Regions from separate parts of the Homo sapiens genome. Here all the other regions are linked to region 1. Evidence: promoter capture Hi-C in 16 types of primary human blood cells and fetal thymus (Javierre and others, 2016). All regions are on one chromosome and are shown on one strand. The core of a region is centred on a gene start or on the middle of the fragment in contact, and the rest is flanking DNA. Distances in the headings are between cores, read along the strand shown. Region 1 holds the start of BLK (BLK proto-oncogene, Src family tyrosine kinase). Region 2 holds the start of CTSB (cathepsin B). Region 3 has its middle 21 kb from the start of CTSB. Region 4 has its middle 13 kb from the start of DEFB136. Region 5 has its middle 5.1 kb from the start of DEFB135. Region 6 overlaps GATA4 (GATA binding protein 4). Region 7 overlaps NEIL2 (nei like DNA glycosylase 2).

Region 1 (2,700 bases), core at 38-2,537:
GAGCAGGCCCAGGGTTCTGGACATTGTTGTGAGCCCTCTGCTACCACGTGGAGAAGATCAGCTTTGGGATTTAAAGCAATTAGCCACATTCACATCAGCTTCCAGGTATTTGCAGTTTATTATGTGCTAAATACTGTAATAGATACTTTTTATGCATGAATCCATTTATTCTCACAAAACCCCTTGGGGAAGTGAAACAGATTATTTCCATAGTGTCTTAAAACCCCAGAACTCTGCGTTGCTGCGTCTATTGACATGAACACCTGTCAAACCTGCAACTCATAGCTCAGTATTGTCTCAGTCCAATCCAAGGAAATGAACTCCTTGAGAAAGCTGACATTCTGGACCATGGGGTAGAAGCTACCCTGTCTGCCTCCCACACCCACTCTCAAGGATCCAAGACTATGAAGGGAGAAGAGAGAGCCCACCGAGTGACTTCCTCTTATAAGCCAATATCAAGACACTAGTGGAAAGGAACCAGCTGACCAGTGGCTCACTGTGTCTGGCTGGACCAGCAAGACTCTGACGTCATCACAGAAGCCTTCTTGGTCCCATTGGTCCTTTGACTGCTGTGTACAGGATGCCACCCACCACTCCAGACACCACTCACCACTCTAGATGTTGGGATCCTTCTCCCGTTACCTCCATTATTCTTGTTCTCTACTCCTCTGAGTTTTCATAGCCAAGCAAATTTCCACCATTGAAGAGGCTCTGAGATCCAAGTCAACTAACTACTGGCTAGGGTACTGTAAAACACATGGGAAATTAGCTTTTACCAAACACCAATTCTATGCCCACCATTCATACCCATTCTACCATTTAATGCTGATAGTATCCTGTGAGCTAGCTATTATTAGCATCATTTAAAGACAAAGCAAAACCAGTGAGGCTGAAAGAACGGCTGCCCTGGTGCACACAGATGGCACATGGCAGAGCCCAAGCCCTCTCCATGAGATCTGCAGCGTTTGTCCACACGGCAGGGCAAATTACCTTGTAGAGTCAGCATGGAGGTTTGCTAACTCTGCCGGACTTGGTGCAGAAAAAATACCAGCCGTGCTGTTAAACCAAAACCCCAGGAGAAAACTTTCTGGTGACAGAAGGGCATTGTGACCCACGTTGCCCAGGGCCAGGGACAGGGCAGCTGCTCATGGTCCTTCCTCACGAGTTTTCCTGGAGCAGAGGGATACCCCCAAACCCAGGGAGCCCACAGGAGCTTCAGAAGGGCTCGGCTGGAGGGCGGGGCCCCTGTTGCACTTGCTCACTGGGGACTGGGGAGGCTCTGATCGCAGACCGGGGGTGCTGCCACCTCTGTCTGCTGCCGGCAGAAAGCCACAAGCCATGAAAACTGATTGAGATGAGAAGAATTCATCTGGGACTGGCTTTTGCTTTAGGATGGTGTTGGAAGTTGCTCGTTGTCGCTAGGAGCCTGCTCCACTGTAAGGGTGTCAGGATCTGAAGAGCTATGGTGAAACACCACTGAAGCATTGCCAAGGTGAGGCCCTGCGTCTTCCGGGTTCTTTATCGTCTTCCTTTAAATTGTGCAAATGGTGCTGTAAGGCCTGTAGTGGGGCAAGCAAGCAAGGACATTGCTGTGGGTGCCACAGACGGAGGAAGAGGCATGAATGGATCGCTGCCTCAGCTATGAATAGATTGCTCCATGGTTTGTGCATTTCCAGTTTTGAGAATTTTTAATTTATAAAAGGTCATCCATCCAGGGTAGATTCTGCTTTTTGGAAAAGGCAGTGAATGTGCCACAGAGGAGAGAAGGGACGTGGGATGTAGAGAGGGGGTTGAGCGGGCACACACAGGCCACTGCTGCGCTCCCGGCGAGTCACTCGGCCTCTTGATAGGAGGTGATATTGACTGTGCAGAGCTGACAGAGGTTAGTGGTCACAGGCGGGGAGCATCTGGCTCAAGGCAAATGACTGTTGCTTTCGTTTTATTTGTTTGTTTCTGAATGAAGTTGTTCCATTTTTCAGGCATTCAGGAATGGGGTAACTGAATAGATGTAATGATGATCTTCTTGTTTAAGAGATCTATTTCACCAGGAAACACCAACTGTGAAAAGGAAAGCATAGTTGATCACATATTTTGAAAGGATTTGTGTAAATTGTAAGGTTTTGACAACGTTTCCATTTATCTGGTAATGCGGGTGGATGAAGTTCACCCTCATCCACCCACATTACCAAGGAACTAAGGAATTGTGCGTTTGCAGTAACAGAAGAAATTGCTGTGATATGTGCATATCCTCCTCCCTCGGGAGAGTGGGACTTAATTCCCCTCACCTTGAGTGAGGTTTGGACTAAGAGTATGGAAAGGGAGAAATAGTAGCTCTGTAGAGGAGAAACCTGCAGATGCCAGCTTCACCAAGGGACCAAGCTTAGCATCACCGGGAATAAGCTGGGCTGCTATTGTGAACTGCCACGACAGTGCGGTTCTTCCCACCAACTCATAACCCCAGTCAAATCATGAGAAAACATCAGACAAATCCAAACTGGGGAAGATTCCACAACATATTTCACCTTCAAAAATGTCAAGGTCATGAAAAACAAAGAAAGACAGGCAAAGCGTCACAGATCAGAGGAGACATGATGGTCAGGACACCCAAACCCAGAATTCGCATCCTGTATTGGATCCTAAAGCAACACCGCAAAGGTCATTAGTGGAAAAATAGGTGAAATTTTAACAAGACCTGGGGTC
Region 2 (2,700 bases), core at 1-2,500, 370 kb after region 1:
GAGACAGAGCCAGCCAACGCCCTCTTAGGCCTCTTCGCCTTACGTTCCTGAACGTTTGGATTCAAAGAGAGTGCATCTCAGCTATCCTCTCCTCCGGCAGCAGGCAGTGGGAATGTTTTTCCAGGCTACAAAAAGGTGCCAGGTCTGCATTTGAACCCCACAGCGTCACTTCTCCAGTGGGTTTGGGGGGTCTCTCGTCCGTTAGGAGGAGGAGTGTGGGGCCTGCGCTAGGGTCCTTTTCTTTGCCAGCCTGCTGGCTTTCTCAGCGCCTGGGAAGGGGGTGACAGAGGCCCACCAGGAAGCCAAGTGCAATTCACTTCCACCTGGGTCGCCCACCCCAGCCTGCCTGCAACGCCCCACACCCAGCACCCACTGCTCCCCAGAGGCCAACTCCCCCCGGCCTCCAGGGCTACTAACCGAGGGGGAGGTGGCGCCCCAGGGACTCTGCCCGGCCTCCCTTTACTGGAGTCCAGGAGCAGGGTGCGCCCCCGGCCTTCTCCCCACCGGCATCCAATCGCCCATTCGCCTCTTGGTTTCGCTGTCTGGTTTCTCTTCCTGTTTATGGATTTAACACCGTGCGGCTTCCTCCCCAGCCCACCCAGTGCCAGATTCCTGTTCTTCAACAGGACCTGTCTTCTGGGGTCCCAGGAATTGCGTGGGATCTTGCGCAGAAAGTTGGCCAGGCAAATCCTTCGCAATGAGGGGGAAATAAACCGAAAATAGATGCCGGCAGATGCGATTATGTCGGCAGTTTGGCCCGGAGACACCGAGGCCCAGGCGCTGGGAGCGCGGTCCCAGGCAGCAGTCTCCGGACCCGGCCGAGCTCTTCCTCGCAGGCGCCTCCCTCGGCGGTCCTGGCCGCGTCCCCGCTCCGAGGGCCGGGGTCCGGCGCACAGCCCGGGGAGGGGAGCGGAGGGCAGAGGGCTGGCGGGCGGAGCTGTTTTCTGCTTTTCTCGCCGACGCTTCGGAGCGCGCGGACTCCCACCCCAGCCCGCCCGTCAGGGACAGTCCCGAGGGTCCCGGCTCCCCGCCGGCCCCCAGGGACGCCGCGGGGCCGCGCCTGGGCCCGACTGAGGGCGCAGAGGAACCCGTCTCGGCGGCCGGGTAGCACCGTCCCCGCCAAGGTCACTTACGCTGCGGTGGCCCCGGGTCCCCAGCACTCACCCAGCGCTGCAGCCGAGAGCCTGCAGCCCAGCCTGCGCGCAGCGGAGCGGTTGGCGTTGCCGGAGCGGTTGCCGGAGCCCTGCAGCCGCCGTAGCCTGGGCCAGCCCCGGCCCTAAGTACCCTCCCGGCCCCGCCCCACGTGACCACCGCGCAGCCCCGCCCGGGCCCTCCCGCCGCCCGCGCACGGTGCTTCCCAGCCCCCACCCCCTCCCGCCACCTTCCGCCGCCCGCGCTCCCCGCTTCCCGGCCCCGCACACCCCCCGCCCCCTTCCGCTCGGGGTCCGGGGCCACCGCCGGGGGCGGGCGGGGGCCTGAGCGCGCGGGCTGGGGAAGAAGGGCTTGGAGCCCTGCGGGCCCTGGGTGGCGAAACGCTGCGAATTGGGGCCAGGGGATGGGGAAAAAGCCCCTAAAGGTGGTCCCAAGGCCCCCACCCCGCCTAGAAAAGTCCCCCCGCCTCGCGGGACCGCCTCCGCCAGAACCCGCGCCTGGGATCCCTGCCTGCCGAGTTGGCGGGGGTGGGGTGGTGGAGAGGGCGCCGTCGCTTATTTCATTCATTCAGAAGCCGCTGCAGAGGCTGGGGGTGGCGAGGCTGTGGACCCCACAGAACAGCCTTTAGAAGGGCCACTTTGTTGTTCAGAGAACGTACCCACAAAACACTACAGCTACGTACAAATAGAAAAGAGTGGCTGTCACTGCGAAGGAACCTAGGAGCTGCGTCAGGATTTCTAAGAGGAGAAGGACCTTGGGGGCGGAAATCGGTTTGGCACAGGAGTACCCGGAGACCTGCTCCGAGAGGACGGACAAAGTGCACATTTACTTGGGGTTTATTACCGGGAGGCCCTGGAAGGGAGATGCAGGGGTTGGCTCAAGACTCACCCTCCTCCAGACACTCCCCAAACAGCTTTAATCCTTAAGACAAACCTGCAAAGCAGGCATGACCCCAGTTGTATTCAAGAGGCTCAGAGGGGCTGGGTTCGGTGGCTCACGCCTGTAATCCCAGCATTTTGGGAGGCCGAGGCCGGTGAGTCACCTGAGGTCGGGAGTTCGAGACCATCCTGACCAACATGGAGAAACCCCGTCTCTACTAAAAATACAAAACTAGCCGGGCGTGGTGGCGCGTGTCAGTAATCCCAGCTACTCGGGAGACTGAAGCAGGAGAATCGCTTGAACCCGGGAGGCGGAGGTTGCGGTGACCAGAGATCGCACTATTGCACTCCAGCCTAGGCAACAAGAGTGAAACTCTGTATTAAAAAAAAAAAAAAGGCTCAGAAGAATCGTATTTTATCCAGGCTGTGGCGACAGTAAGAAGGCAGTAGCCGGGTGCAGTGGCTCACGCCTGTAATCCCAGCACTTTGGGAGGCCGAGGCGGGCGGATCACGAGGTCAGGAGATCAAGATTATCCTGGCTAACACGGTGAAACCCCGTCTCTAGTAAAAATACAAAAAATTAGCCGGGCGTGGTGGCGGGCGCCTGTAGTCCCAGCTACTCGGGAGGCGGAGGCAGGAGAATGGCGTGAACCCGTGAGCTGAGATCGTG
Region 3 (2,700 bases), core at 77-2,576, 390 kb after region 1:
CGTCCTGCTTTCTCCCTCACGCCTGGCATGTCAGTCTCAACGCAGCGCCCGAGGGCTTCTTTAAAACCCAAGTCAAATCATACACTCCTCTGCTCAAAGGCCACCAATCGCGCCCACACCATCAAAGTAAAAGCCCAGGCCCAGGAAGTAGAATGGGGGCTGTCAAGAGCTGGGGAAGGGGGAGCTAGTGTTTAATAGGTGTAGCGTTTCAGCTGGGGGATGAGAAAGTTCTGGAGATGGATGGTGGAGATGGTTGTGCAACAATGGGAATGCTATAAACGTGGGTGGGGAAGACTTCAGAGGAGGAAGTTTTATGGGGGAGAGCAGGAGCTCAGTTTGGGGCATGTCAAGAATGAGATGCCTTATTAAACATTCGAGCCAAGACACTGAACAGAGCTGAGTCTGGAGTTCACAGAGAGCCAAGCTGGGGACATGGATTTGCAATCAATCAGTGCACAGATGGCATCAGTTCCACGGGACTGAGAGTTCACCAGCGTAGCGAGAACAGCCAAAACCAAACCAAACCAAAACGTTCTCCACAGGTCCCAGGAGTGAGCCAGAGACTTTAAGCTGAAAGGTCAGCCATCCAAGGAGGGATCAGGAAGGGGAAGAGGAGGAACAGCAACGAGGGAGGGAGGACCGCCGGAAGGGTGAGCGCTATGCTCGTGGGCTCGGGCGGAGTGGCACCTCGGGAGCTTCCTACTATCAGGGTTTGTGCCTGCACGAATCTGTCTACAGCCACTGCTAAATCTGAGGGCCATTGGGAGGCAGTTCAGGGTTTGGAGTTGTGTGAGGAGACAAGGTTAGGGATGGGAATTGAGGAGCAGTGCAGGAGGGCCGGGCGTGTAGGGAGGTGCCCCATTGAAGGGAGTGGGAGTGTGTGGGTTGGGGAGCAGCTGTTCAGAGGGGTCCACTGTGGCCCCCAGACTCTGGGCTGATCCCCAGAGTAAAGAAGATGGACATATCCTCTAGGGACCTGCACTGTCCCCTCACACCCCCATAAGAATGGTCTGGGGCTGCTGATAGAAGGCTCCTCAGTCAACTGACTTGGGGACTGACAGGGTCTGATGGTGAGAGGCAAGGACAGGAAGGCCTGCAAAAACGAGGCCTGGTCTGTGGTATGGTCTAAATAGTGACTTCCCTCAAAGTCACACAGTGACGTCCTAAGCCCAACTACCTTAGAATGTGACTATATTTGGAGATAAGGTTTTGATTTTTGTTTTGTTTTAGAGACAGGATCTTGCTGTGTTGCCCAGGCTGGAGTGCAGTGGCATGATCATAGCTCACTGTAGCCTCTTCTACCTGGCTGAAGCGATCCTCCTGCCTCAGCCTCCTGAGTAGCTGGGACTACAGGCATGCGCCACCACACCCAGCTGTTTTTTTAAACAGTTTGTAGAGACAGAGCCTCACTATGTTGCCCTGCTGGTCTCAAACTCCTGGGCTCCAGCAATCTTTTCGCTCCCACCTCCCAAAGTGCTGGGATTACATTGTGAGCCACCACACCCAGTCTTTGGAGACACGGTCTTTAAAGAGGTAGTTAAGTTAAACGAGGCTGTTAGGGTGGGCTCTAATTCAATCTGATTGGTGTCCTTATAGGAGGAGGGAGAGACATGAAGGCTGCACATACACAGAAAAAAAAAAAAACCCAACAACATGTGGGGACACGGAGAAGGCATAGCCTGAGGAGAAACCAGCCATGCCAACACCTTGATCTCAGACTTCTAACCTCCAAAACTGTGAGAAAACGAACGCCTATTGTTAAGTTGCCCAGCCTGTGGTATTTTGTTACGGAAGCCTGAGCAAACTAACACAGCCTGGCATTTTTGCTCTGAAGTTTACAGGATTGATTGGAATTTATGGGAATAGATTTATAGTTGCACAACTCAATGCTATGCAGGGATTTTCTCCAGCGTGATTCCTTTGGTGAAACAGTGGCCCCCACTTCCTACTGTCTGCCCAAACCCAAGCCAGCGAAAGTGTCCATTCACCCATCCATTCAGTCATTTACTCATTCATTCAACAAATATTTATTGAAGACTTACTGTAAAGGTCTTATAAAAGGTGATGGAACCTTGTCCATATCAGGGTTAGACATGGCTAAGTTCTGGGGAATTAGAACATATTATTAATCTCCATAACAAATACAGCTTTTGATGACACACAGAAACGAATGAAATCGGACACAAAGTCCCAATCAGTTTTTGGAAATAATCCACAAAATAAATGGAAGTTTCAGTTCCATAAACAACTAAATTGGATCCAGATATCAGATAATTCCACATTATATTGAAAAAGAAGAAATCGGGCCAGGCATCAGCATGTTGGGAGGCTGAGGTGGGCAGATCACTTGAGGTCAGGAGTTCAAGACCAGCCTGGCCAACATGGTGAAACCTTGTCTCTACTAAAAATACAAAAATCAGCCAGGTGTGCTGGCACATGCCTGTAATCCCAGCTACTCAGGAGGCTGAGGCATGAGAATTGCTTGAACCTGGATGGCAGAGGTTGCAGTGGGCCGATTGTGCCACTGCACATGGTTTGGCTGTGTCTCCACCCAAATCTCATCTTGAATTGTAACTGCAAGAATTCCCATGTGTCGTGGGAGGAACCTGGTGGGCAGTGATTGAATAATGGGGGCAGGTCTGTCCTGCACTGTTCTTGAGATGGTGAATGAGTCTCATGAAGTCTGGTGGCTTTAGAAAT
Region 4 (2,700 bases), core at 135-2,634, 470 kb after region 1:
ACAGAATTTAGAGTAGTAGTTGTCTCTGGTAGGGTTAATGCCTGAGAATGGCATGAGGGACTTTTCTGGGGTGGTGGGAACATCTGATACCTTGATCTGAGTGTGGTACGTATGTTGTGCAGCACATTACATGTGTGTATGTATGTACACACGTTCGCACATGTACATATATAAATCTTTCCCTGCACTCTTCCTTCCAAACAATTGCCATTTTTGTAATTATTAGCTTGTTTATTTTTATTTATTTTTTAGTTTATCATCTCTACTATGCTGTAAACTCAAAGAGGACAGACCTCCAGGCTTTTTGGAGGGTGTCTACTTACATAGTAGGCGAGAATTATATGTTTGTAAGAAGAATACCTGAATGAATGAATAAATGAATGAATTTTGGCATTTTGGGATGCTCTAGAGGGAATAACACTACTCAGAATTGCATGGAATGGTCAGCAGTAGTGTTCATCAGAAAGCTTTTTGAAAAATTTTTAAATTATTTTTAAATTAAAAAAATTTTTTTTGAGACAGGGTCTTGCTATGTTGCCTAGGCTGGTCTTGAACTCCTAGGTTCAAGTGGTCCTCCCACCCTGGCCTCCCAAATGCTGGGATTACAGGTGTGATCCATCTTGCACAGCCCCATTGGGAAGTATTTTTTTATCCTTTCATAGATAAAGAAACAAAAGTATCAATTAGTAAGCATCTAGTTTGTTTCAGGCCCTGTGCTTTGCACATGTGTCATTTAAGCTTCATAACAATCCTTGGGGATAAGCATTGTTTCCTCAAATAGGAGGAGGAGCTGAGATTTAGAGCTCATAAGTCATCCAAAGTCACACCGGAGGGCTGAGGACGGAAGGTGTGCAGGTGATTTAGGCACTCCATTTTTGCCGTTCCTCCTTTGCCCTCTGGTCTCTGTGCTCCCTTTGGTATTCCTGGAGAGAAGGCCAGAGCCTTGTTCACACAGCTCCAGAGGGAATGGGGCACTCCCTGGGGCAGTGTGGGGACTTCATCTCTACCTTCCCACGGGCCGAGCACAGTGCCTGGCACACAGCGAGTGCAGGGTAAACCCTCTAGGAGTGAATGGAAAAGCTGTGATGATATGAAAGAATATTATTACATGTTCCCCCTTCCTATACTTACTCATCTTTCACAAACGTGTAGATTAGAAGCTGCTTGAGGGCAGAGTCTTGGTGCAAGCTTCTCTGTGTGGCGCTCTGTGGTAGGCCACAGCAGCTGAAATATCCCAGTGGAGTAGGAGTTGGCAAATTGCACCCTGTGGGCTAAATCTGACAACTGTCTGTTTGTATAAATAAAGTTTTATTGAAACACGGCTTCACACATATATTGTCTACAGCTACTTTGACTCCATCACAGAGTTGAGTAGTTGTGATGTGGACTGCATGCCCTGCAAAGCCTACAATATTTACTCTCTGGCCTTCACAGAAAAAGTTTGTTGATCCTTACAATTGAGATTCCCTTTGTGGATTCAGCTTGTCTCAGCCTCTTCGAGATGAACGTTGCTGAGAGTGGGGTGGCAGGTGCTCCGGTGAAGGAGGAAGTAACCAGCAGTAGACAAGGGCAGAAGCCTATAAAGCTTGACCTCCCCCACCTCATAGTTTACTCATTGTTGCCCCAAACTTACACAACTCAAGACAGGGATCCCAGGATGAAGTCGCGGGGTACAGGCGTTCCCTAAGCCTAGCTGGTTGCACCTCTCTACCAAAATAATAGTAATCCAAACGCAGCATTTCATGAGGCTGAGGCAGAAGGATCACTTGAGGCCAGGAGTTTGAGACCTTCTTGGGCAACATAGTGAGACCCTCCCCCCATCTCTATAAAAAATTAAAATTTAACCAGGCATGGTCGTGCACACCTGTAGTCCTAGCTACTCAGGAGGCTGAGATGGGAGGATTGCTTGAGCCCAGAGGATTGAGGCTGCAGTGAGCCATGATGGTGCCACTGCACTCCAGCCTGGGTGACAGAACAAGACTCTGTCTCTTAAAGAAAAAAATCCTGGGAGAGGTGCTGTCCATCTCTCCCATCCCTACAATGAGTTTCTTGCCACGCCAGAGGGTGGCAGAATCTGAAACCTAGACGATCTCAACAGGTTGGCATGAGAGGCCAAGTCTAATAAAATGAAGTCAAACTGGGATAAATGGAAGGTTGCACCCTCAGGTAAAACCAAAATCAGTACCATAAGCATCCATTTTGGGAAGGTAAAGGTTAATTACCATCTTTGAGACAAAGCATGACTGGCTTTTGTAGATGGAAAATTCATATGAGTAGTCAGTGGTGTGAACTCCCACAAAATGAGTTTGGTCTCAAGCTGTATTCATGGAATTTTGGAATCTGAGATTAGAGACAAGAGCATCCCATTCTTTCTCTGTCTTCGGGCAGGACCAGATGTGAAATATCCTGCTTGAAACAAATGGGAGTGCAGCAGGAGTGGGGGCCGCTCAGACACAGCTCTGAGTAGTGTCCTGGGAATCAACGCAGCTGGGTGCTTTAGCCTGGAGATCGGAGCAGAGTGAGGGCTGAGAAGAGGAGCGAGCTCACTTGTCTTGGGAGGTCCCCAGGGTTGGATGTGGAATATGTGTCCTGAGGTTCTCGGCAGAAATTGCAATGTCCATCTCTCTTCCCTGGAAGTTCGATCTTTGAGCCCATGAGTACTTTCTGGACACATTCCGGGCAGCAAGAGTTTGGGGAGAT
Region 5 (2,700 bases), core at 97-2,596, 490 kb after region 1:
AGGGCTGCGAGTCCCCTGAGTGTGACAGAGTGAATTTGCCTCTGGGATACACATCCCCACTAGGGATCCTGAAAGTCCAGGACACAAGGTGGGGGTGCTGGCGGGGAAGCCCTAACCCGAACTAACGCAGGAACCGACTTGGGGATGGTTATGGACTATAAACTATTCCATACTTTTAGGGGGAGACCCTTGCATGCACTTCCAGATCCCAGCGTAGATTAAGTGCAGCCATTCCTTACTGTTCCTCACAGGAGGCCTTGCGGCCAGCTACAAAGTTCAGGCGCTGGTTGCAGTTTGAAAGAATCTCCCAACGGGGTTCACAGTACAACCTCGGTGGGGACGAACTTCCTTGGCCAGGGCCGGGGCGGGGAGGGTGAAAAGCGGGCTGCAAGTGCAGGAGCCGTAGGTGCAGAAGTCGTGGGTGCAGAAACTGCAAGTGCAGGAGCCACGGGAACACGCCGGCTTTGCAGCGGACAGGGAGGGGCGTGGCCTGAACGCCTGGACTGCAATCTCTGCGGGGAAAGCTTATGACTCCCGGCAGCCGCGAGTTCTGATTACAGGCTGACAGGAACTCAGCTCGCTGCTTCCAGTGGAACACCGTGGGAGTGGATCTGCCTTGTCAAGTGGGTAGGAACTGTGGAGCTTACCACCGCCTGCTACTCCCTACTTCTTGCACAGACTCTTCTGTGCAGCAGGGGCAGCAACGCTGCCCTCTGAAACATTAACCTAGTGGCCTGAGACCCGCTCCCATCCCCCAATACCCATAGAAGCTCCTTCTTTCTCTGCACACGGAGACCAGTGTGCAGGCCCTCCCGACCCAGCCCCTACCTGGCTTTGCCCGGCCACCCGCCCTGGTAACTCAACGCAAAGGACAGAGTCTCCTGGGAGCGACATGGCCCCGCCCATGTCCGGAGAAACCAGAGTATCCCCCTCTGGGCAACATCAGGCAAGCAAAAATCCCAGGGCTACTACCGCAGCTGCTGCTCTTTTGCAAGCGCCACCTCCTAGCTGGAGGCCAACCCACACAGTCCTTGACAGTATCTCCTGGTAGATTAACATTGCACCCAGGAAGGAGAAAACCGCTATGGGATCTCAGCTATCACTGCTGCCTGCACCACTCTGGCTGAACAGGAGGTCCTGAGTCCGTCCACATGACCAGTTCATTACTACTATAACCCGCATTCAAGAAAGCTAACATACTAAGGCTATCAATAACAAAGGAATTTCACAGAATCTGTGTCACAACCTTGCCACTCCCATTAGAGCTGGTGCTGCTACCCACTGCAGGGAAACTTGAGCATAGGTCACATAACTGGATCCCTTGCAGACATTCCCCAACACCAGCCTCGAGTGTGTCAACTTCTCTGGGCAGCTAGACCCAGAGGAGCAAGAACACTCACAGTGACCTGGCTCCCAGGGACTTCCAGGGACTCCCACTTGCAGGGGAAGGAGGACTGCATCACATCAAGGGAACACCCTGTGGGACAAAAGAATCCAGGAGGCAGGCCTTGAGCACCAGATGGAAGGCTTCCTTCAGTAGACACACAGTTGAAGTGCTGGGCTCAGCAAGGAAGGTCTTCACTGTATCCCAACAGTCAGACAGCTCTGGCGCATGTGAAGGGTCTTGGAGAAAAGGAAGTCTTTCCCATGTTATCCACCACCATAGGCACAGTTGGGCTTCTCCCATGGGAGCTTAGTGTGGGTGCAACTATAGACAGTCTTCCTGGAACACATCCCCACAGGAGGAGCACCCTCTAGGTTCAAGGTTGCATGAGAGGCAGAGCCACAATTCCTCTCTATTTGGAACATCAACATTCCTACAGATGAAAAAAAGGTCATGAAAAAAAGTCCTGTCAGTCAGCTCCTGAACAGCAGGAACACTGGGACAGGAGCATGCCTGAGAGGTGGGTAACTTTCCTGGTGATCTGGCAGCAGGGCTGAGGTGGCTCCAACCCTTCCCACAATAAGACCCCAGTGTAACTCACTGAGAGCTCCTCTGGCCTCCTCTGTCAAGCCTGGGACATCATTCACCCACCTGCTTTAGCCACAGCTGGTTCCTACCCAGGGACACCTCCCCTACTGGCCTGAAGCCTGAACTATCAAATTAGTAAATAAAATACTGGGGGAAAATTAATAAATAAATAAGTCCACACTATGGGGGAATGGGATAAGCTTTAAGAGACCTCTACCATTCCAACCCCATAGGACACAGTGAACTTGCTCACACACTGAGCACATTGCTACTACAACTAGCATATAAGAAAACCATCATACAAAGACTCTCTATAACCAAGGGTCTTCACCCTCTAAAGCACCAAGAACTGAATTAGGCTATAATTAACTATAAGAATTAAAGTCTCATCCTTAAGGGGAAAAAAGAAATTTAAAAACAAACAAGCAAATAAGAGAAACACAGTCATATCAAATATAAATTCAAGAATAACGAGAAGAAGTAGTCTATCCAAATGAGAAGGAACCAGAAAAATAACTCCAGTAATATGACAAAACAAGGTGCTATAACACACCTAAAAGATCACACTAGCTATCCAGCAATGGACTCAAATCAAGATGAAATCTTTGAAATACCAGATAAGAAATATGAAGATTAATTATTAAGCTACTCAAGAAGATATTGGAGAAAGGTGGAAACCATCTTAAAGAAATTAAAAAGCAGTTCAGGATTTGAATGAAAAATTTTCC
Region 6 (2,700 bases), core at 201-2,700, 260 kb after region 1:
ATTTGCCTCACTGGGATAGGATTGACGGTAGTAGAGTGAGAGGGCTGTTGTTAACTTAGTCTCATGTATCTTTTCATGATTTCTTGTTATAATGAACAAGCAAATGGCTAAAGTTATGAACATTCATAAGAAAATATTTCTACAAAGCATGTATACAAGGATGTTTGTTAATCACTGTAATAGCAAAAATGGAGGAAAGAAAACCTTTGGAAGGAAAATGGTTAAACTATTGTTCTTCAATATGGGAATGGTACAAGAAACTTATTGGGAAATATTATATAGGTATTAAAAAGATTATATTCTCAGAAAATAAAAAAATAGAATTACCACATGATCCAGCGTACCATTTCTGGATATATACCCAAAATAATTAAAGGCAGGGCCTCAAAGAGCTATTTGTACACTGCTGTTTATAGCAGCATGATTCACAATTGCAGAAAGATGTAAACAACCCAAGTGTCCACGGAGAAATGAACGGATAAACACAGTGTGATATACATACACGTAGGATATTACTCAGCCTTTAAAAGGAAGGGAATTCTGGCCCCTGACACCACATGTCAAATCCATAGAGACAGAAAGTAGAATGGAGGCTGTCGGGGGCTAGGGAAAGGGGGAATGAGGAGTGATGTTTAATGGGTATGGAGTTTGAGTTTTGCAAGACGAGAAGAGTTCTGGGGATGGTGGTCAGGCTTGCAGAACGGTGTGAATGCGCTTAACACTACAGAGCAATATACTTCAGAATGGTTCAGATGGTAAATTTTAAGTTAGGTGTGTTTCATTTTACTGCAACTGAAAAAAAAAAAGCATACCTAAGTGAATGGAGATTAACGTGAGGGGGAGATTCTTCTGAGGCCAGAATGGGTTTGAACATTTGAGGCATAGCTAGGGGGATGGGGTGGGGGAGGACACCCTTCCACAAGGTGGGAAATAGGGGTCTGGGTGTAGAGTCACAGAGAGATGTGCAGATGGTGGGGTCGGGGGGTGCAAGTGCCACCCCATCTACCCACAGTTAAATAGGAGGCCAGTTCAAGTTCACATATGCTGGTGCATTTCTCGCTTAACCATTGCGTGTTCATGTCTCTGAAGCAGTAATTGCTTTTCTTTCTGTATTTGCAGGTGTGGCCTTTATCAATCCCACATGGTAGACAAGCACAGCATAGAAAAGGGGCTAAAAGATTTGGCTCAGCCTAAGAGAAACCAGATGTGGGGAAGGCACCCTGCAGTCCTGCTCCCCAGGACTGGCTTAGGCATCTGTGAATGGCTCTGGGGCCTGCCTCCCAACAGAACTGTGGTCAAAGTGTTGTCCAGGGACATTTTATCTCAGAACCTGGTCACAGGGCAGTCTCTAGCATAGTCTCTTACTGCTCCCCACCATTCACAGAAGCACCAATGGCTCCAGCCAGACCCAATGCAGTACAGAGCTGCAATAAGTAGAGTGATGTTACATCTCAACTCACTGGGACTGTTGCTGTTGAGGCCAATTTTCCCAGCACAATAATTGATAGCACCGCTGCACCCTCACACCTTTTGAAGATAGGGCCTTGCTCCACCACCCAGGCTGGAGTGCAGTGGCACGATCACGGCTTGCTGGAGCCTCGACTTCCTGGGTTCAAGGGATCCTCCTATCTCAGCCTTCTGAGTAGCTGGGACTACAGGCATGCAGCACCGTGCCCAGCTAATTTTAAAACTTTTTTGTAGAGATGGGGTCTCACTATGTTGCCAAGGATGGTCTCGAACTCCTGGGCTCAAGCAGTCCTCCCACCTCGGCCACCCAAAGTGCTGGGATTACAGGCATGAGCCACTGTGCCTGGCCTAGCACCCACTTTTTGTTTTCAGGGTCCTTGTGTGGATGATAAAGGCTTTTGAACAGTCTGTCTCTGCTGCCTGAAATGCCTGCCTCTGTCTACTCAAAACCTTTTACAAACTCAGGTGTCACCTCCACACTGAAGCCTTCCTTGATATCCTCACGTGCCCCTCCTTCCCACTCCTCACCCCAGGACAGAGTTTAGTGTTTCTCTGTCTTTTTACATCACCGACCAGAGTCTGGTTATTTCTCCTTGTCTGTGAATTTCTGAGGGTAGGAGCTGTGTGTCTTTAGTTCCCTATTCTCCAGGCTCTAGTAAAGTAGCCATCACATCACACAGGTGCTCGATAAGTTTTTTAAAAATGGAATTGATTTCTTTCTCGCTGAGTTCCAGGGGCCTGTGCAGCCCGTCTGGGCCCCAGGCTTTGTGGAGAGATTGCTTAGGTGTTGCCTTCTCGCAGCAGGTGTGTGTCTTTCAATGCTGTAGCAGACTACGCAGAAATGGAAAACCCTATATATTTACTTGTGACCCTCCAGGTCCCCAGGCCTCTTGCAATGCGGAAAGAGGGGATCCAAACCAGAAAACGGAAGCCCAAGAACCTGAATAAATCTAAGACACCAGCAGGTGAGGAAAAGATCTGTGAGTGATTATATGAGTACATCAGGAGCCCTCAGAGTGCCTAAGAATCATATCTTCCGGGTTAGGCAGGCCAGCCCGGGCCGCCAGGGGGTGGTGACAGCATCGGACATCCCTGGCCTTTCAGGACAGGATGAAGAGCCCAGCAAAAAAGTAACAATTGCCATGGAACGTGTTGGGAGCTTTCGAAGCAGGCTCAACTCAAGCTGGGGCCTGATCATTGCCGACTGCAAAGACCCAGTGCTCAGGCTGGACC
Region 7 (2,700 bases), core at 186-2,685, 290 kb after region 1:
TGAATAAGCTTAATTAATGATTAGTGAATTGAAGTGGCTGCAGTGTCACAGGAACCCAAAAGAGGGACAGCAGAAATTGCCATAGTTGGTATGAGGACATCCTGACCTAGACATTTTTGACCTAGTAAATGTTTTGTTCATGATGGGCATTTGACAGTTATTTTCATCAGAATTATATCAACATTGGTGAGTTTATACCAAGAAATATTTTCTGCAGCAAATTCTATTATGCCCACTTAAATCCTTGCTCAGTTTTTTTTTTTTTTTTTTTTATGTAGGTCAGTTAAACCATTTCTAATATGTGGCAGATAACAATCTGTGCTCAGATTTACAGATAAGCTATTCTGGGATTATTTCGAAAGGTAATGCTCTTTTGGGTGGAGGACTTCAAGATTAATTTGTGTACTAATTAACAAGTTAAAGATCATACCAGAACAGTGATCTTTAAGCACGGACCTGTAGTGGTCAAGAAAGTAACACAGGCATTTCCAGTATTAATGCCAGATATTTTGGTTTATACTCCTTGAAAGACTGCCTGAATTTCAGGCTGTGTAGAACTGACTCATCCTGGAATCTAGGCCTACATATTGCATATCAGGAGGTGCAATATGAAAATAAAGTCAAAGCAAGGGCCCAGGCATGGTGGCTCATGCCTGGAATCCCAACACTTTGGGAGGCCAAGACGGGCAGATCGCTTGAGGTCAGGAGTTCGAGACCAGCCTTGCTAACGTGGTGAGACGTGGTCTCTGCTAAATATACAAAAATTAGCTGGGGGTGGTGGTGTGCACCTACAGTCCCAGCTACTTGGGAAGCTGAGGCAAGAGAATCACTTGAACCCAGGAGATGGAGGCTGCAGTGAGCCAAGATGGTGCCACTACACTCCAGTCTAGGCGAGACTCCATCTGAAAAAAAAAAAAAAAAAAAAAAGACAGCAGAACATCCTTTAACACACATTTTCTATATTTATTTTCTTCTACTGAAATCATTTTCAGTGAGATGAGGTGGGTCCTTTGCCTTATACTTTTTAGAGTGGTGATCTGATTCACTGATCAATTTTTGTTTCAGTATCTAATTTTTATTGATTACAGTTTCCTTATCAAGTCCAATATGCTGGTGGAGGGGGTAGCGAGGGGTACCCAGTTTCACAGGGTGTTGTCTTTAGCTGCTCTGTATGTGTGCATTCCCACGCACCGCTTATTTCTGGCATAGAAAATGTATTACGAATGGAATGAAGGAATGACAACTTATGTTCATTTCTTAGCTACTGCATGAAAAAATTGGGAGCGATTCCCTTCAGGTATTCCAGGGTGGCCTTGCCATCTTGCATGGGTGTGTTTCACTGCCAACTAAGTCTCCTTGCTCCCAGTCACTTTGAAAACCACATGCGAACTGCTCACACCACTGGAGCAAAAGAGCAAAAGGCAGAGTCCAAAGACTTCATTTGGGAAGGCCCCCCAGGAGGGGTGAGAAGGAAGACCTTTGCAATAGGATAAATATCCGCATTCCCCAGTTCCCCTCTCTGGGTCTGTAAGGCTTGGATCTCTGTTCATTTTTTCTAGGTCCATGGAAAGAAATTATTCCTTAGATTTGATCTAGATGAAGAAATGGGGCCCCCTGGCAGCAGCCCAACACCAGAGCCTCCACAAAAAGAAGTGCAGAAGGAAGGGGCTGCGGACCCAAAGCAGGTCGGGGAGCCCAGCGGGCAGAAGACCCTTGATGGATCCTCACGGTCTGCAGAGCTCGTCCCCCAGGGCGAGGATGATTCTGAGTATTTGGAGAGAGACGCCCCTGCAGGAGATGCTGGGAGGTGGCTGCGTGTCAGCTTTGGTTTGTTTGGCAGCGTTTGGGTGAACGATTTCTCCAGAGCCAAGAAAGCCAACAAGAGGGGGGACTGGAGGGACCCTTCCCCGAGGTAATGGTGTGGCCATCTGATTTTCGTGGGCTCTGATAGTCATAGGGCCCTGCTTGGTGGGGTTTGGGACTTCAGCAGTGGGGACATACTGAGGACGTCCAGTCTGCCCCCCAGGGCCCTGCTGTCTTGGGGAGAGAGGCCACCTCTGTATCTACCTGTGATAGGAAGTAGACTGTGGTCTGCATGCAGGAGAGGGTTGTGCACCAAGAGGTGGCTGGGAGAAGGGGAGAATTTTCCCAGCAAATGTGGCACTTGAGGGGGGACTGTCCCTGAAGAACATTTTATTGCCTGACTCCTGACTAGTGTGCTTTGAATTTAGGGAGAAGATTTTCCCAGTTTTATTTTAAGTATATTGTTTGTGTGTTTATTTTTTATTGAGATATAATTAACATTCAGTAGAATGCAGATCTTAAGTATTCAGCTTGATGAGTTTTTTTGCTTTGTTTTGAGACGGAGTCTTGCTCTGTTGGCCCAGGCTGGAGTGCAGTGGCACGATCTCGCCTCACTGCAACCTCTGCCTCCCAGGTTCAACCAATTCTCCTGCCTTAGCCTCGGAGGAGCTGGGACTACAGGTGCGTGCCACCACACCGGCTAACTTTTGTATTTTTAATAGAGACGGGGTTTCACCATGTTGGACAGGCTGGCTGGTCTGGAACTCCTGGCCTCAAGCGATCGCCTACCTCCGCCTCCCAAAGTGCTGGGATTACAGGCGTGAGCCACCATGCTTGGCCCCAGTTTTTATAATCTATGAATGTTGAGATCAACATTTTATGCATAAGACTCTATCT

Evidence for each region. The method cuts DNA at HindIII sites, captures the fragments that hold promoters and counts their contacts. A CHiCAGO score of 5 or more calls a contact.
Region 2: a contact is called between the fragment with the promoter of CTSB here and the fragment with the promoter of BLK in region 1, in 1 of 17 cell types (total B cells). The highest score is 8.6, in total B cells.
Region 3: a fragment that was not itself captured here is called in contact with the fragment with the promoter of BLK in region 1 in 1 of 17 cell types (total B cells); the score reaches 6.2 in total B cells.
Region 4: a fragment that was not itself captured here is called in contact with the fragment with the promoter of BLK in region 1 in 2 of 17 cell types (monocytes and total B cells); the score reaches 6.0 in monocytes.
Region 5: a fragment that was not itself captured here is called in contact with the fragment with the promoter of BLK in region 1 in 4 of 17 cell types (M1 macrophages, M0 macrophages, M2 macrophages and 1 more); the score reaches 8.0 in M1 macrophages.
Region 6: a contact is called between a fragment that was not itself captured here and the fragment with the promoter of BLK in region 1, in 2 of 17 cell types (naive B cells and total B cells). The highest score is 7.2, in naive B cells.
Region 7: a contact is called between a fragment that was not itself captured here and the fragment with the promoter of BLK in region 1, in 2 of 17 cell types (total B cells and naive B cells). The highest score is 6.8, in total B cells.

The regions. Positions count from the first base shown.
Region 1 is chr8:11,493,100-11,495,799 of GRCh38, forward strand. It overlaps BLK (BLK proto-oncogene, Src family tyrosine kinase), which reads left to right and starts at 1,288. Exons shown (of 13, transcript NM_001715.3): 1 at 1,288-1,492. RefSeq lists a cis regulatory region at 1-1,601 and enhancers at 1,221-2,420, 1,310-1,499, 1,510-1,599. The HindIII fragment of the contact is 7,699 bases long and covers 1-2,377 here.
Region 2 is chr8:11,866,837-11,869,536 of GRCh38, forward strand. It overlaps CTSB (cathepsin B), which reads right to left and starts at 1,251. Exons shown (of 10, transcript NM_001908.5): 1 at 1,165-1,251. RefSeq lists an enhancer at 515-724 and silencers at 815-1,144, 1,285-1,404. The HindIII fragment of the contact is 8,989 bases long and covers 1-2,700 here.
Region 3 is chr8:11,887,752-11,890,451 of GRCh38, forward strand. No RefSeq gene overlaps it. Among named protein-coding and RNA genes, the nearest start is that of CTSB, 21 kb to the left of the region's middle. The HindIII fragment of the contact is 3,746 bases long and covers 1-2,700 here.
Region 4 is chr8:11,960,658-11,963,357 of GRCh38, forward strand. No RefSeq gene overlaps it. Among named protein-coding and RNA genes, the nearest start is that of DEFB136, 13 kb to the right of the region's middle. The HindIII fragment of the contact is 397 bases long and covers 1,187-1,583 here.
Region 5 is chr8:11,985,967-11,988,666 of GRCh38, forward strand. No RefSeq gene overlaps it. Among named protein-coding and RNA genes, the nearest start is that of DEFB135, 5.1 kb to the left of the region's middle. RefSeq lists an enhancer at 434-934. The HindIII fragment of the contact is 1,648 bases long and covers 523-2,170 here.
Region 6 is chr8:11,752,702-11,755,401 of GRCh38, forward strand. GATA4 (GATA binding protein 4) reads left to right here. Exons shown (of 7, transcript NM_001308093.3): 5 at 2,345-2,432. Among named protein-coding and RNA genes, the nearest start is that of LINC02905, 7.2 kb to the right of the region's middle. The HindIII fragment of the contact is 7,301 bases long and covers 1-2,700 here.
Region 7 is chr8:11,778,039-11,780,738 of GRCh38, forward strand. NEIL2 (nei like DNA glycosylase 2) reads left to right here. Exons shown (of 5, transcript NM_145043.4): 3 at 1,560-1,912. Among named protein-coding and RNA genes, the nearest start is that of NEIL2, 9.7 kb to the left of the region's middle. The HindIII fragment of the contact is 2,858 bases long and covers 7-2,700 here.